Regions from separate parts of the Homo sapiens genome. Here region 1 is linked to region 2. Evidence: promoter capture Hi-C in human tissues and cell types (Jung and others, 2019). All regions are on one chromosome and are shown on one strand. The core of a region is centred on a gene start or on the middle of the fragment in contact, and the rest is flanking DNA. Distances in the headings are between cores, read along the strand shown. Region 1 overlaps DMGDH (dimethylglycine dehydrogenase). Region 2 holds the start of BHMT2 (betaine--homocysteine S-methyltransferase 2).

The links. The method cuts DNA at HindIII sites, captures the fragments that hold promoters and counts their contacts. A contact is called where the count stands out against the background at its distance.
Region 1: a contact is called between a fragment that was not itself captured here and the fragment with the promoter of BHMT2 in region 2, in 2 of the 25 tissues and cell types used here (liver and mesendoderm cells).

The regions. Positions count from the first base shown.
Region 1 is chr5:79,020,629-79,023,328 of GRCh38, forward strand. All of the region lies in intron 14 of DMGDH (dimethylglycine dehydrogenase), which reads right to left. Among named protein-coding and RNA genes, the nearest start is that of ARSB, 37 kb to the left of the region's middle. RefSeq lists an enhancer at 1,075-1,576. The HindIII fragment of the contact is 5,347 bases long and covers 1-2,700 here.
Region 2 is chr5:79,068,361-79,071,060 of GRCh38, forward strand. BHMT2 (betaine--homocysteine S-methyltransferase 2) reads left to right here and starts at 1,407. Exons shown (of 8, transcript NM_017614.5): 1 at 1,407-1,455. The coding sequence starts at 1,423. DMGDH (dimethylglycine dehydrogenase) reads right to left here and starts at 1,314. Exons shown (of 16, transcript NM_013391.3): 1 at 1,160-1,314. The coding sequence starts at 1,260. The HindIII fragment of the contact is 19,729 bases long and covers 1-2,700 here.

The DNA.
Region 1 (2,700 bases), core at 114-2,613, 48 kb before region 2:
AGACCCTGCATTTTCTAGAATCAACATTGTCTTATAACTTATGTTTAATAGAGATTACATTTTATTCTGTTTCTACTAGTTAGAAGCTCTACACGGGGAGAGAGGGGAAGGAGAGAGAAAAAGGGAAAGAGAGGGAGAAGGAGAGAGTGAGAAAAAGAGGGAGAAACATATTATAGAAAACAAATTCTTCTGATGTGCTTCAACACATTACGTTTAATACTTGAGTCTCTGTGAATCTTCGTGGAGGTTCTCCAGAAATGGACAAAAATTCAATATTTCCACCATGAAAATTCCAGGAATGCCTATGACTCCATCCAAAGGCAGCTGATTTTCCTTTTGCTCTTGATTAATGCATTTCTTCCATCTCCAACTAAACAAAGGCTACTGATTTTCCTCCCAAAAGTTACTTCCTTTGGAACATACCAAAAATACCATTGAGAACAATGATATGAGTCGTTTCAGGTGAAGCGTTTTTAGTTAAGAAGATTTTAAAAGTACAGATTCAATTATTTTTACCGCAGCTTTGGTCAAGGCTTCCTGAAGTGGCTCTACGGAGCACTTCCCACAAGATGGCAGTGTTGTATGCGGCTGGAGAGCCCTCCACTTGCGGAAGGGTTATCTTCACAATTACGGCTAAGAACGTATCCCTACAGCTTTAGTTCCTGAAATATTATTTGTTTCCAGGTTCATGAGATCTGAGAGCCATCAGGAGTATATCTTTAACATTTAGATCTATGGGTTAGCAAGGTGTCTAATCAGCGGTACTTAATAAATGTCTACTAGATGAACGGATGAATGAATGATACATGTGTATCAACTTCACATAAGCCAACAGCAGGGGAAGGAGGCTGGAACAACTCCAAGACGGAAGGAAGCAAGGGCCACTGCGCCGTCTCCCTTTGTGATGAAAGAGTTCTTCAGTACTCCATTGTTCTTTTCCCTACTTGCTGACAGGTTTTGACAAGAACACGATTCACCCTAATAAGGCCTGATGGCCCATCTGCTCACCCAGCCATTTTCCTCCTTAAAATGGGCAAAGCAGCTATTCTGATCCTATCATAAAACACAAAATTAGTTACAGCAAAAACATGTGGGGGAAGTGTCTATTAATAAAAGGTAGTCCATACAAACAATATATGTTACCAGAGAGAGAAATTCTTGGGCAGTCTTTCAAGTCTGATAAGCCCACTGTGGAAAAGGACTTTGTGGGGGAAAGTGGTGGGTGGGAAAGCTCCACGATGAGGTCAGAGGGTGGCGTTCGACCTAAGCTAAAGCAGTGGCCTCCCCCAGGTCACTTTCCCTCTCTGTGCTTCAGTTTCCTCTGCTTCAGATGGGGGAGGGGAGTACCAGCTGATCCCCAGGGACCCATCTAGCTCTGATACAGTCAGCTTCTACCTTTTCTTCACATTATGGCTTAAACGATCATAGTGTAAATGCCTAAGGGCCAACCAGAGAATTCTAAATGTTTGCTCTGAAGGGAAAGAAATAACTGATTTCAAACAATTGTAAAATGCCAGGGTTTTTGCTGTGTTTGTTTTGGTATCAAATATAAATATCTCTCTGTATTAGCTGTTGCTTCTGTTCTCCTATAGCATCGATTTTCCGAAGCAATTATAGGCTTACAGTATTTAAAATGTTGTATGAAGCTAGTTTGGGTAACATTTTGGTTTTTAGGCACAGGACTTGAATGGTCAAGTTACAAAGCTTAGTTTGTAATGTTAATAAGGTTTCCAGGCATCCGTTTCACATTATAGACTGCTACAAAACCACCAAAGTTGATCTAATCTATTCACCTGTCTTGGAGATTAGCAAGCATCATTATGAGTAGGTTAATACCAACTAGCCACTTGAATTGACATAATTGAAAAAGACTGGCTCAGTTGGGGGCCAGGTCCTTGGGCTACAAGGACCTTTACCCTATAAAATCATTAGGAATTAACTTTGTGACACTTGAATGAGAAACAACAATTCAGAAATTATAAAAACATGCCAGAAATCAAAATTAGTATCTTCTAAACAACTAACTACGTTCTGAGATGAGCTTTGGTTATTTGGCTGTATAACTTAACTAACAAAGACACAATCCACCCCTGCTAATAATCATAAAAGATATTTGAAAATCCCATTTCAATACGAAGGGATTATTTATCTATGCCTTATCCCCAAACAATAATATCCGAACACTGAAGCAAAAGAATCAGTTATCTATCTACCTACTGGTGACCAATAACAGAAATTTAGCACTTTCAAGAGTTGGGCCATTTTTAACCTTATTTGAAACAGCTAAAGTAAGGCTTCTGCTATCAGAGGGAGCAATCTGCTGCTAGGGTCTGCCCAAATTCCAAGCACCTGCTTTCTCTGGTCTGGAGGCAGATGGTACATCATAAAAATAAAAGCCATGGGGAGAATGTACAGAAAGATATTCCCTTTAAAACCCTTTAGGAGGTTCGTTTTCCTAAAATCTCATACTATAAATACACATGTTTTATTTTAATATTATAGCTCAGAATTTGGGAACTGACACAGGGTCATGAAAAAGGTTTCCTTGGCCTGATTGAGTCATATACATGTATTCACGTATTTCCACAGGATGGGAAATCAGTCTTTAGTTTACAACCATCTAGGGCAGGACATTTTATTTTTGGAGTTCTAACAAATATCCTAAACAGTAGCCGCTGCTGCCCTTATTCTTCAATACTA
Region 2 (2,700 bases), core at 157-2,656:
ACTTTCACATGCATTCTCTTATTTAATATTCACAGCAATCCTGTGAGTTATATAGAGCAAAATTAGTATCCTCATTTTATAGATGAGGAAACTGAACCTCAGAAGTGTAAGGTCACATTCTGTGTAACAGATGGCGCAGGAACTGTGAGTTGGTGGCTACTGCATTCCCAGTACTGGAGACAAACCTAGCACATCACAACACCCAGTAAATATTTGTTGAATGGATAGATGGAACTCAAAAGCAGGTCTTCTGATTCCAGAATTTCAGGTCATAGGACATAAAATAAAATTCGAATCAACTCATAATAATGTTGAGTGATGCTGATAAACAAGCCTTTCCTGGCAACCAGGAATAATCTACAAATATAAGAAGTCGAAAGATGTTCAGCATTGCTCATATTTAAATACAGACCAATCAAAACAAGGACATGCCATTTTTACCTATCAGATTTAGCAAAGATAACAAAATGGGCTATTCTGGGAACCAGGGAAGATGTGGGAAACAGACACACACTGGTGTGCCGCATGCAAACTCTTGCCACCCACTTGGAGAATGTGTTGCTGTCTTTCAATCTTTCAGATGCACGTAACCTTTTCCCTAACAAGTTCACCTTTAAAAACTGTTGCTACCGACTCCCATATGTACTCAAAGATAGATGCCTAAGAATTTTCACATGCACGTTATTTGCAGTAATAAACAACCAAAAACCATTTAAATGTTAATGAATAGACTAACGATAGTGTAGAATATTGACAGGATGGAAAACTATGCAGCCATTAAAAGGAACAAGGCAAGTCAGTGTGTGCTGATATGGAACAATCTCCAAGATATATTGATAATTGTAAAAAGCAAGATGTCAAAAAGCCAAAGGAAAACCTATACTGACCTGTGTTTGCCTATGCGTAGACTGTCTCTGGTTAGATTCAGAAGACACTATTAACAATTGTTCACTGGCCAAGGGGATTGGGGCAGGAGAGACTTTACACGGGGAACCTTTGGATACTGTTTCACTTTATAATTAAAAGATAATTCGAGAAGATATATCAAGGCCTATTTCTTGGAGGCCAGAGCGCTCCTAACCCCTGAGCCTGCCTCAGCCTCTGGCTCCCACCCCCGCAGCCGCCCCGTCGCCTCTGAGCAGGACGGGGCCCCACTCACCCTTCCCGGCCGCAGACAGAGCGCGGGCGCCCGGGGGAGCCCTGCAGCGGGCAGCTCCGCAGCAGGAGGCCCCGCAGCAGCTGCGCGCCGGGACGGAGCATGACTAGGCCGAGGCCGAGGGCGCAGGCGCCTGCTCCGAGGCCAGCGGGCAGCCTGAGGCCGCGGGGCCGGCGGGGCGGGGGTCGGATCCTCCCCCCGGGCTGGGGGCGGGCTCCTAGACGGCCGCGCGCCCGGGAACCCGGCGCCCACAGAGCCGCGGCACCATGGCACCTGCTGGACGCCCGGGGGCCAAGAAGGTGAGTTTCGTCCCCTCGATCCTCGCGGAGCTCCTGGCCGCTGGGCTGCGAGCGACTCCGTTCACACCCGGCGTCCATCCCTAGCCAAGCCCTGGGGCCTCGGCAAAACACTTGGACGGGATGGCCCTGAGCCTCAATTTTCCCCTGTCACGGGTTGGTTAGCGTTTATGGAGCCCTTACTCGGTGCCTGGCGCTGCACAGAGTGCTGTGCTCAAGTTATCTCCTCATCTTCACAATTATCCCCATTTCACAGGTGAGGAAACTGAGGCTCGGCGAGTCAGGCGACTAGCTCAGGGTCACGGGTCCAGCCCCGCGGGGAGCGAGGATCAGAAGTCTAGCTTTCGGACGCATGTCGCGCACACATTTTCTTCCCTCAACCGACCCTCGCCCGCAGCTCTTTGGGCTAATCCGTCCGGGAACTCTTCGGACTGTCCCCTCGCGTTTTGGAAAAGTCAGCAGCCTGGCCAAGCAGCCTGGCCTTGCGAGTCGCCGGCTGGTCTGAAACTAGTCCTGGGCAAGGACGCCCCCAGAGCTGCGGTGCAGGGTGGAGGGTAGGTGGGATTCGCTAGCACCCCTCAACCTCCTCTCACCCGGTGGTCCCCAGCTCCTGGCCCCTTTCCTGGTCTGGTCACCAGATGTTGGCTTTATGCCCAGCCATTTCTACGTCGAGTATGTGTGGGGGTGGGATGAAGGAGTGACTAAGCAAAATTAGGAAGGGCATGAGCTTGGACGAAAGACATCCCCAGGACCCTTCAGAGACCCCCACCCGCTCCAGCCCTGTCATTCAGAATGGGAGGAAGGGAGGAGGGGCAGTTTATGCGTGGAAATGTGCACCACCGAGCTATTTATACTAAAAAGTTAGAAACGACCAAGATACTCTGCAATACGGGATTCTAAATAAATTAAGGTTCATCTACTTAAGTTATTAGACAGTTAAATAACTTAGTATGAGAACCAGCTAAGTGCCTTGGCAATGTTAAGTTGCAAAAGGAAATATATCACAAACTGATCCCAACCATATACAAATATTTATATACACACTGTAAGGAAGGACACAATAATGGTAATAGTTACACAAGATGTGGAATATTGGTTTAAAAAGCATGTTTTAGGATATTTTTTCAGGTTATAAAAGCAAAATGTGAGCATTGAAAGAATACAGTTAATAAAAATAATCAAAGAACATTGTGCTTTTTTCTCTCAACTTTCTCTAATGCTATGTTCATCTTTACAGTTCATATTTTT